2 separate regions of the Homo sapiens genome follow, and region 2 is linked to region 1. Evidence: promoter capture Hi-C in human tissues and cell types (Jung and others, 2019). All regions are on one chromosome and are shown on one strand. The core of a region is centred on a gene start or on the middle of the fragment in contact, and the rest is flanking DNA. Distances in the headings are between cores, read along the strand shown. Region 1 holds the start of NF2 (NF2, moesin-ezrin-radixin like (MERLIN) tumor suppressor). Region 2 overlaps MTMR3 (myotubularin related protein 3).

Region 1 (6,136 bases), core at 1,749-4,248:
TTACCAAAACCTTCACATCTCCAGATTGCCCTTAGGCATGAATTTCTCCACACTGTGTTGCAAATGAAGTCACTGCCATTGGAAAGAGATTAGGAGCTATCTGTTTTAGGGCCTGCTTCTCTCCTGAGGCAAAATCCCGGAGCCAAGGCTCTGGAGCTGTGGGGAAGGACCCTGGAAAGATTCTCTCTGAGAAATACCCTCACTCTAGGAACTGAGCACTTGGTGGAAGGAGGCAGGGGACCGCAATAACCTGAGGCTCAGCCTGCAAGAACTGGGGGATGAGCAATTGGGGCACCAGTAATTTCAGTATGTCATGTCCAAGGTACAGTCCTGTTCCACAAGTAGGGACTAGGTGGAAGAAGGGAGCTCCAACTTTTCGCAGGGCACAGTGGCTCACGCCTATAATCCCAACACTTTGGGAGGCCGAGGCAGGTGGATCACCTGAGGTAGGGAGTTCAAGACCAGCCTGACCAACATGGAGAAACCCTGCCTCTACTAAAAATACAAAATTAGCCAGACATGGTGGCGCAAGCCTGCAATCCCAGCTACTTGGGAGGCTGATGTGGGAGAATCGCTTGAACCCGGGAAGCAGAGGCTGCGGTGAGGCGAGATCACACCATTGCACTCCAGTTTGAGCAACAAGAGCAAAACTCCGTCTCAAAAGAAAAAAAAAGAGAGCTCCAACTTTCAATTGCACTCACACAGGTTTTAACCTCAGCAACAAGTAGCTCTAGGTAGGATGAGAAATGCTGATGTCCTGCTTTTCCTGGGAAGAAAGCATTTGATTGGGAGCTGGGGGAGCAGTGCCCGGTATTACAGTTTGCAATAGTCTGGAGTAGAAGCTCCACCTCACTAAGCTAGGAGTGAGTAAGGAGGGAATGATCTTGGTTCAAATACCATACCCTCTCATCTTTCTTACCGAATTTGTAGATTTTCTTGAATAGGTGTTTTTTCATTTGTTGTTTGCCCTCAGGACCATTGCCGGAGGGTTTAAATAGTTGATTTTAAAAAAAGAATTTTTGGGCCAGGCGTGGTGGCTGCATCTGTAATCCCATCACTTTGGGAGGCCAAGGCGAGTGGATTGCTTGAGCTCAGGAGTTCAAGATCAGCCTGGGCAACATGGCAAAACCCTGTCTTTACAAAAATTAGCTAGGTGAGGCTGGGCGGGGTGGCTCACATCTGTAATCGCACCACTTTCCCACCACTTTGGGAGGCCCAGGTCGGCTGGTCACGAGGTCAGGAGTTCGAGATCAGCCTGCCCAATATGGTGAAACCCTGTCTCTACTAAAAATAGAAAAATTAGCCAGACGAGGTGGCGCACGCCTGTAATCCCAGCTACCTGGAAGGCTGAAGCAGGAGAATCACTTGAACCTGGAAGTGGAGGTGGCAGTGAGACAAGATCGCGCCATTGCACTCTAGCCCGGTGCACTCTGGGTGACAGAGCGAGACTCCGTCTCAAAAAAAAAAAAAAAAAAAAAATTAGCCAGGTGTGGTGGCACACGCCTGTGGTCCCAGCTACTCGAGAGGCTGAGGCAGGAGGACTGATTGAGCCAGGGAGGTTGGTCAGGGTTGCAGTAAGCCATGATCACACTACTGCATGCCAGCCTCGGTGACAGAGTGAGATTCTGTCTCAAAACGAAACAAAACAAAAAAGAATTTTCACCAGTTTTACAGAGGAATGGGTTCCTTAAGCTGTCATGCTGGAAGCTGATCTTATCTAAGGCTGCTTTTGTGTTACAATGGTAGAGTTGAAGAGTTGAATAACTCCAACAGAGATTCTCTAGTCTACAAAGTTGAAAATATTTACTATGTGGTCCTGTACAGAAAAAGCATGCCAACCCTTGCTTACTGCTGCCAATGCTGCTGGTCCACAAACCACACTTTTAGCAGCAAGAACTTAAATTACTTGAGAAGCAGTACTGTACGGGCTGTGAGCTTGGTTCAAAACCCCACCTTGCCATTTACTAGATAAATGGGTTTGTTCTGAGGATTAAATGTGCAAATGTCTAGCACTTTGAAAATACTGAACAATTGATAGCTGTTATCATCATGTTGGAAACTATGTGGAAAGTAAGTATGAGATGTTATATCGTTCTTCAAAGGGTTTTTTTTCCCAGAATATGCAAGCTTTAGAAAAGGGAAACAAGTATTGGCTTTCCAATAAACAAGACGCAACTTCTAATACCTGGGTACATAACAATATTACCTAATGAAAGAATAAACTTTCAAGCTTTTAAGCGTAAGCCTAACTTAAGCCTGACACTGAAATCCTGAATTTTCTATCACAGGAGCATCCAGCTTCTTCCAATAACAATGAATGAAAATAACCTTCAGGAAATGCCAAAACCCAAAAGTCCTATGAAAAAAAGCAGCAATCATCTTTAACATGAGGTTTTGGGCCTAGTTGGCCCTTCCGGTTCTGCCCGTCTCTAGCTACACCCATAAGATGATATAAAGAGAACCTCTCGAGCTTCCACCTCGACTGTCACCGCAGCAGTCGGGGCTGCCGGCCGGTTACCTCGCAATTGAACTCCATCTCGGCGTCCATGGTGACGATCCTCACGGTGAACGTCTTGGGTTGCTTCCTCTTGAGAGAGCTGAAGCTCATGCGGGAAGCGATGGCCCCGGCCATGGCGCGGGGCTCAGGCCCGGGACCCTCGCGCCCCACGGCCTGCACTCTGAGCCCTTTAGCCCCCCTGGAGTTGCTGCACAGGCCTCAGGGCCACCATGGTGGCCGGCTGCCCGGCCCGGGAACGGTCTGGGCTGCGCGGGTCCCCAGCGGCCAGCATGGGCCGCGAGGACCCTGCCTGAGCGGAAAGGGGAGTTGGGGGACGGGCCCTGACGGCTGCAGGGAGGGCACAGGAGCCGGGACCTTCGGTGCAGGCGCGACCCGGCACTCCGGGATTCGGGCCGGAGATGCCGGGGACGCCTCGGGACGGGACCCCTAGACGGCAGCGGCCCAGACTCCGCGCGCCTCTCAGCGGCCGACTAGGGTCACGGGGCCGCGCTGCATCGGGCGCGTACGCGCGCGCGTGGCTGTCACCGTCCTCACTCCGCGCGCCCGCGGGAAGCGCACCCTCCCCACAGCCCGGGGCCTGCTCCCGGCCCCGCCCTCAGGTCGCCCAGACCACTACGCGCAGCGCAACCGAACCGGAGGCTGACGCATAGATGCTGCGATTGGCTGGGAAGGCCAAGGTAGGCAGGACTTTCCCGCTCCGTCCCGCCTCCTTTGGGGTGACTCCACCAATGGAAAGTTTCACTCTAACTGCAAAAAAAGCAGGCCTAGGCTCGGCGTTGAGTGGCTACAGTGGCAGTCACTCTGAATGCTTTTGTGCCTACTCTAACAAGACTGGTTGAGGCGGCGGACCTCTGCTGACCTTACCCGGGAAACCACTTAGAGGCTGGATCCGGGGCGAGGGGAATTGGGTCCTTCGTTGGCCCAGGGAGGGACTCTTCGGTTCAAGTAGGCTCCGAGTGTGGCGCCCCAGGGGACTGCGTTTCGGACACACGGCGAATATTCTTCTTTGGCAGTTAATCACATATACCGACCCCTATGAAACTTTAAAGACACTTGTGGAGGCCTGTTAGGTTTGCTGGCACTTTCCCGCCAGATCCCTCTGCTTCCCTTTAGAATTATTATTATTATTGTTATTATTATTATTATTAATTATTATTATTATTGGGACGGAGTTTCGCTCTTGTTGCCCAGGCTGGAGTGCAGTGGCGCGATCTCGGCTCACTGCAACCTCCGCCTCCCGGGTTCAAGCGATTTTCCGGCGTCAGCCTCCCGAGTAGCTGGGATTACAGGTATGCGTCACCACGCCCGGCTAATTTTGTATTTTTATTAGAGACGGGGTTTCTCCATGTTCGTCAGGCTGGTCTCGAACCTCAGGTGATCCGCCCGCCTCGGCCTCCCGAAGTGCTAGGATTACAGGCGTGAGCCACCACGCCCCGCCTAGAATTATTATTGGTTATACCTACCTCGTGAGGTTGTTGAATTTCAGCGCACTGAATACATATAAGGCTTTAGAGCTGAGCCTGGCATCCTATGAAATTGCTGAATTTGGGTTGAAAATGAAAGCATTCTTTATTTTATACTCTATGATGCCCATTTTTGAACCGTATTCATGTATTATTTATTTAGTGTCATCAAGGGTTCTAACGGGTGTAGGGGGGATAATTACACCTTTCTGTACTTAGATAATAAATTCTATTTTAAAATAGCTCTTAGTAGTCAAATAGGGACAATTTACTGTGTTTTTTCGTTTGTTTTTTGTTTTGAGACAGAGTTTCGCTCTTGTTGCCCAGGCTGGAGTACAATGGGGCGGTCTCGGCTCTCTGCAACCTCCGCCTCCCGGGTTCAAGCAATTCTCCTGCCTCAGCCTCCCCAGTAGTTGGGATTACAGGCACCCGCCACCACGCCCGGCTAATTTTTGTATTTTTAGTAGGGACGGGGTTTCACCATGTTAGCCAGGCTGGTCTCAAACTTCTGACCTCAGGTGATCTGCCCACCTTGGCCTCCCAAAGTGCTGGGATTACAGGCGTGAGCCACCGCGCCCGGTGTACTGAGTTTTAACAACAATAATCACCCCATAAATGTTAGCTAACATTAGCATCACCCCCCCAACTCCACAGGTGAAGATACTGAGAGATATGATAGAGCCACTCGCTGACTATAATGCAGATAGTGAAAGGCAAAGCTAGGACTCAAACCCAGGTCTGTCCCACCCAGAGCCTGCTGGTTAGCACTGTGCTGCCCTGCTTCCAAATTCTCCCTACTACAGCCTCAGGAAATGTGAATTACAGTTCCGGAGTACTCAGCAGACATTGTTGCTGTAACGGTATATTAATGGAATAAATCTAGTTCTTCTGCACGGACCCCTGCTGTGCCTGGTAGCACCGGCCAGGCCTCAGGAATGATTTGCTGCCACACCCAGTGAGGCTGCTGTGGGGACTTTATGTCCTGCCTTCTGCTAGCAAATTCTCCCCACCAAAACTGATTGCTCAGGGCAGTATGGGCTTGGCATGGGAGTGTCTTCATTATCATTGCTTCATTTCTTCCCCGCAGGTGGGAGAACCGGGCTGGGTTTTCTGGGCTCCCCACAGGGACAACAAATGGCTGCTGATAAAAATACGTGACACCGGGCCGGGCCCAGTGGCTCACGCCTGTAATCCCAGCACTTTGGGAGGCAGGCAGATCACAAGGTCAGGAGATCGAGACCATCCTGGCTAACACGGTGAAACCCTGTCTCTACTAAAAATACAAAAAATTAGCCGGGCGTGGTGGCGGGCGCCTGTAGTCCCAGCTACTCGGGAGGCGGAGGCAGGAGAATGACGTGAACCCGGGAGGCGGAGCTTGCAGTGAGCCGAGATGGCGCCACTGCACTCCAGCCTGGGCGAGAGTGCGAGACTCCGTCTCAAAAAAAAAGGAAAAAGAAAATGCGTGACACTGGGAACCCAGTGAGGAGTAGCAAAAGGAGGTGGATCAGCTAGCAGGGACTAAAAAGCGACACTGATGATTGGTAATAGCTCATTTTTATGAAAAGACTTGCCAGGTGCTAGGCACTGGGCTAATTGGCCCCAAATGCCAAATTTAATGTTCCTGGGAGGACATCCAGCTGGACATATGGGTTTGAATCCCAGAAGGGAGGTCAGGGCCAGGAATAAAAATCGATGTGATAGAATCTTTTGCTGGTATTAAAAGTGCCATTCACAGGTTGGACACAGTGGCTTACACCTGTAATCACAGCACTTTGGAAGACCAAGGTTGGAGGATCACATGAGGCCAGGAGTTCGAGACCATCCTGGGCAGCATAGTAAGACCCCATCTCTACAAAAAAAAGTAAAAATTTAGCCAGTGTGTGCCAGGTGTGGTGGCTCACACCTGTAATCCCAGCACTTTGGGAGGCGGAGGCAGGTGGATCACTTGAGATCAGGAGTTCAAGGCTAGCCTGGCCAACATGGTGAAACCCCGTCTCTACAAAAATACAAAAAAAATTAGCCGGGCGTGGTGGCGCACGCCTGTAATCCCAGCTACTCCAGAGGCTGAGAGAGGAAAATCGCTTGAACCCAGGAGGCAGAGGTTGCAGTGAGCTGAGACCATGCCATTGCACTCCAGCCTAGGTGACAGAACAAG
Region 2 (5,390 bases), core at 608-3,107, 380 kb before region 1:
AAAATGTGATAATGGGGAAAGGAGGGAAGCTGTGATCCTTGGTCCCTGCCACGTTGTCAGACAGCTTCATGTCATGCTAAACAATCTGATCTTCATCATAGAAGTAGTGAAGAAACACTGAAGGGCTTTAAGCTGATGAATGACATGATCAGTTTCTTTCTTTCTTTCTTTCCTGCTTGCTTTCCAGCAGACCTTATTCCCAAATAGTTCTAAAATAGTCTCTGAAACACTTGGCCATCAACCAATAAACTGATAAATACAGGATGATATGAGAAAATGCAATGATATGAAACTATCATTCTCACATGCAATTTAATTATAATTTAATTCCAGCAATTCAAACACTGAAAGAACACAAAGTTAAATTGGGCAGTTCTACTAAACACTACTATCATTACTTCCACAGTAGCTGGTGGGGAATTCTCAGTTGCTGGGATTTTATAGGTGTTTCCCCCCTTTCCCCTCCCCATCACGACTACTCAAATCCAAGTGGACCCTTCTGAACAGAGTGCTACATAGTATGAAAGAACAGCATTGCCTCTTTCCTTAATGAATCTGGTGTGTATCTTTAGCTGATAGACAGAAAACTGATGTAACTGCTATAATCATGGCCCAAATCTAGAAGCCAGAAGGGATTCAGGCCAAAACTGCTCCTGGACATAAATGCTTAACTACAAAGAAGAATGATAATAAGAAGTAAAAAATGTCAACTACCAAAAAAAAAATGACAGCCACTGAGTCTTTTTTTAATTGCTGAGTAAAACGAATGAACAAGATTTCAAAGAATCCCAAAATGAAGCCAAAACACAGTCTGCATGGAATTACAGTCCTGAGCTGTTTTAACGTGTCATAATACACTTCTCTGTGCTGGAAGTGGAGTGTAGAAAGCCACAACACTGGCAAGTAAAGAAGGAAGAAGGCATTTGCTGTAAGTACATGAATTTTCAAGCCTTTATTCGTTTCATTTAAGGCTAATGATAGCAGAGCACTGGAAGAACCAGTTCACTGAGAGGACATTCATAACTGAAAAGGGTAAATGTACTCTTGAGAATCAAGAGGCTTCCTTTTCTTCAGTAATACATAGTCCATTATGCAAATCAACATTATACTTAACATCTACACTTATACCACCAAGGAGTCATTAGAGTAACCTCATGCTGTAATGAGAGTCTGCAGTGAGCTCAAAGTGCATCTCATCTTTTGACATTAAGGCCAAGGGAATTATCTCAACTGAGGCAGTTGGTAACTACTAAAGATTGCAGAATAAAAGCCCATTCAGCCTTTATACCTTTATAAAGCTTAATGATACAGCATTACCTAATGCAAATCATTCACTGTTAAACTAAACAATGGACACCTCAGCTGACAACTACACACATCATTTTAAATCAAGCATAAGAGCTGCTTGCTGATCTAGTGTGTTTTGTTGTTGTTGTTTGTTTGTTTTTGAGATGGAGTCTTGCTCTGGTCACCCAGGCTGGAGTGCAGTGGCGTGATCTTGGCTCACTGCCAGCTCCACCTCCCGGGTTCATGCCATTCTCCTGACTCAGCCTCCTGAGTAGCTGGGACTACAGGCACCTGCCACCACGCCCGGCTAATTTTTTGTATTTTTAGTAGAAATGGGGTTTCACCGTGTTAGCCAGGATGGTCTCGATCTCCTGACCTCGTGATCTGCCTGCCTTGGCCTCCCAAAGTGCTGGGATTACAGGCGTGAGCCACCGCGCCTGGCCAAGCCAGTGTTCCTTGAGTGCTAAATTAAGTGAGAAAAGCAGAGCACATAATGCTTTCTCTCCCAATTCTGTATGCCTCTCCTCTCTTTGAGAGCATTAAGTTTTTTGACTTACTTTCTCCATTTACCTTAGAGGGAGAACAGCTGGTAATCACTTACATTAACAAGAGACTCCTTGAACTTGATGTGAAGTCTGTAATTGGAAAGGGCAATGATGGCATCCTCGGCACGGCCCACAAACTCTGTGCTCTCTCCATGAAGTTCAAGGAAAGGAACCTTCGAAATGAAAGAAACCCTTCAGAGTTCTGAAGCAGTTAAAAAAAAAAAAGCTTCAAACATCAGTTGGCTGAATGGATGGTAAATCCTCTGCCACTGAAGTTGAAAACACAGCACATAAGTAGATAAGGAAGCTAAAGAGGATGGGTTTATACCCACCTAATTCAAATATATCTAGTTATTCAAATTCTGAACTACTAAAGGAATGATACAGAGAAGATCATCTTAAACAGTGGATTCTCAGGAAATAAGTCTTGCTAAAATGAGATGTTTTCCAGCTTGCATTTCTACTACATGTATGTTATATATATATATAATATAGTACGTTACACTTAAATCCATTAACTCTGCTATACAGTTAATGCTAAATAAATATTTTACATTTAAAAGTGGCCTATAATTACCTGAAGATTCTCATCCTCCCGGATCAGCTGCTTCCTGGGAAAGATCTGATTGGCCTGGATGCACTCAAGGCTGTGCCGAGTCTCTTCATCCTGGAAAAGTCCAAAACCTTAAAATAATTTCAAAGCTTCTAATCATTCATATTTGGTTTTTCTGCCATATCTGCTAGCATAATCACAATGAAAGTACAAAGACCAAGGTGAACAGGCAGAAAAGCTCAAGGAAACAATATTGATCTTAAAAAGTTTTTCTATCCAATACATTAGTTACATCTAGTCTGAAAACACATTGATGCAAAAAAAATGTCAAAGAGGTTAGAATATTTCTATTAGGCACTAACAGCTTCTTAATACTTTTTTTTCTTTTTTTGAGACAGAATCTCACTATCACCCAGGCAGTGGTGCACTGGTAGTGTAGTGCACAGGTAGTGCGGTGGTGTAATCTTGGCTCGCCGCAACCTCTGCCTCCTGGGTTCAGGCGATTCTCCTGCCTCAGCCTCCTGAGTAGCTGGGACTACAGGTGCGTGCCATAACGCCTGGCTACTATTTTTGTAGAGACGGGGTTTTGCCATGTTGGTCAGGCTGGTCTCCAACTCCTGGCCTCAGGTGATCCAGCTGCCTCAGCCTCCCAAAGTGCTGCGATAACAGACATGAGCCACTGTGCCCAGCCCCACACTACTTTTAAGAGAAACCAAGATATAATGCTTTTTTCTCTTTAAGTTACGATCTTAAATTATTTGAGAGATACATACTGAAATATTTAAAAATGAAAGGTGACATTTGAAATTTGCTTCAAAATAACTGGGGCAAGAGTAAGGAAGAAGCGGGACATAAGTGAAACAGGACTATCTATGAATTAGTAATTCATGAAACTGGGTGAGAGTTCATTATCTCTACCATTGTGTCTACTCTGGTTATATGTGAAATTTTCATAATAGAAAGCTTGAAAACAATTTCTAAGAAAAAGTAAGCTTAAGAACTGAATTTCCCAAGTTGAAAATATATGAAAGACTATCCTTCATTTACTCTGCCTTATATTACAAAATAGATTTCTGTTAAGACAATTTCAAAAGAGGAAGCAATAAATTCTCATCTAGATGACATGTAAATTACAATTTGTATTAAAAAGTAATATTTTGCATTATGAATTTTTATGGTATAGGAAGACATGAGAGAAATGTCATCTATCACAAAGCCTGACTAAATTATAATAGAATCTGTTTACACAGCACTTTTCTTTTTTAAGTCAGGGTTTTGCTCTGTCACCCATGTTGGAGTGCAGCAGCACAATCACAGCTAATTGTAACCTCCAACTCCGGGGCTCAAGTGATCCTCCAGCCTCAGCCTCCCAGGTAGCTGGGACCACAGGCGCCCACCACCATGCCAGGCTAATTTTTTTTATTTTCAGTAGAGACAAGGTCTCGTTATGTTGTCCAGGTTGGTTTCAAACTCCTGGGCTCAAGTAATCCTCCCACCTTAGCCTCCCAAAGTTCTGGGATTACAGGTGTGAGCCACCAAGACTGGCCCCACACAGCAATTTTTAAAAGAGCAAAAGCCACATCATGTTCAACTGACAGCATTAAGAATTATAACCAGTGGTTACTGGTTGCTTCTGTGTACACTACTTAACACAATTCCAATAATTTTGTAAGTCTTCCCCCAAAAAGAGTTTTTCTTCTTATCTATAAACAACACTTAAGGTTTTACTAACAGCAACCATAATCATAAACTGGTAATACTCTACACTAGCATGATTCTCAAAATGAAGTCCACAGACTCTGAGATGCTTACAGGGGCCCTGCGAGGTCAAAACCTTCCCAATAATATTACGGTATTATTGCCTTTCTTCACTGTATTGACATCTATACTAATAGTGCAAAAAAACCTGGTAGGTAAAACTGCTGGTACCTTAGCACAATTGAGACAGTGGTGCCAATTTCATAAGAATGACCTTGATAAAGCAAGGAAATATTATAAATTCTATTTATTAAATCCTGACCCTTAAGTAGAAGTCTTTTTTACAGAGGAAATACAAGTAAAACACCTCTGATGTATGGTGCAATATTACGGTGTCACAAAGTAAAGCACTTGTGCAAATGCTTCAATTAAGAGATGAACTAGCCATTTTTTTTCATTGAGTATCATTCTTAATTGGAAGAACAACTGATGGAAAAACTATGGTAATGCAGACTTGGACATTTGGCAGGTCTTTTTTCCAAAAGACACTATTAGGAAAAAAACAAACAGTAACAACAAAAGATAGTATTAGTTGTCAATAATAAAGCTTTTGTGCAAAGATTAGATTTTGGAAAACCTCTCATCTCCCACCATGAACTTTATAGCTTCCTAGTACTTACAACTTTTATCTTTAAAGTGAAGGTATTACCAAGTGTGATTTAAAAAAAAAAAAAAAACACACACTATAATAAAATGTCAACTTTTGAAGATCTGCCTCAATCAACGAACCCATTATTTTCCTAATGACCAATGCATGTTACAAAATCATATGTGGATAAAAGATTCACTCAAAGTACAAGACAGACTAATGGTTTTAATGTAATATAATACAAAAAGTTCACTGATATGGTTTCAGATTCTACACTGCAACTAACCTTTAAAGAACCACCACTGGCCAGGTACACGGCTCATGCCTGTAATCTCAGCACTTTGGGGGGCTACAGTGGGCAGATCGCTTGAGCCCAGGAGTTCAAGCCCAGCCTGGGCAACATGGTGAGACACCATCTCTACAAAAAATAGAGAAACTAGATGGGCACAGTGGCGCATGCCTGTAGTCCCAGATACTTAAGAGGCTGAGGTGGGAGGATCACCTGCACCTGAGGTGCACTGTAGCGGCTACAGTGAGCTGTGATTGCGCCACTACGGTCAAGCCTGGGCAATAGAGCAAGACCTTGTGTCAAAAACAAAAAAACACATCACTTGTCAAGTTTTGGTTTGGTATTAAAGAAAAATATAAATTATCTGGG

Evidence for each region. The method cuts DNA at HindIII sites, captures the fragments that hold promoters and counts their contacts. A contact is called where the count stands out against the background at its distance.
Region 2: a fragment that was not itself captured here is called in contact with the fragment with the promoter of NF2 in region 1 in 1 of the 25 tissues and cell types used here (dorsolateral prefrontal cortex).

The regions. Positions count from the first base shown.
Region 1 is chr22:29,600,495-29,606,630 of GRCh38, reverse strand. NF2 (NF2, moesin-ezrin-radixin like (MERLIN) tumor suppressor) reads right to left here and starts at 2,998. Exons shown (of 16, transcript NM_000268.4): 1 at 2,519-2,998. The coding sequence starts at 2,632. RefSeq lists enhancers at 1-275, 3,483-3,612 and a silencer at 2,653-3,232. The HindIII fragment of the contact is 17,440 bases long and covers 1-6,136 here.
Region 2 is chr22:29,975,551-29,980,940 of GRCh38, reverse strand. MTMR3 (myotubularin related protein 3) reads right to left here. Exons shown (of 20, transcript NM_021090.4): 4 at 2,410-2,499; 5 at 1,889-2,005. Among named protein-coding and RNA genes, the nearest start is that of MIR6818, 29 kb to the left of the region's middle. RefSeq lists an enhancer at 1,162-1,211. The HindIII fragment of the contact is 4,354 bases long and covers 1-4,034 here.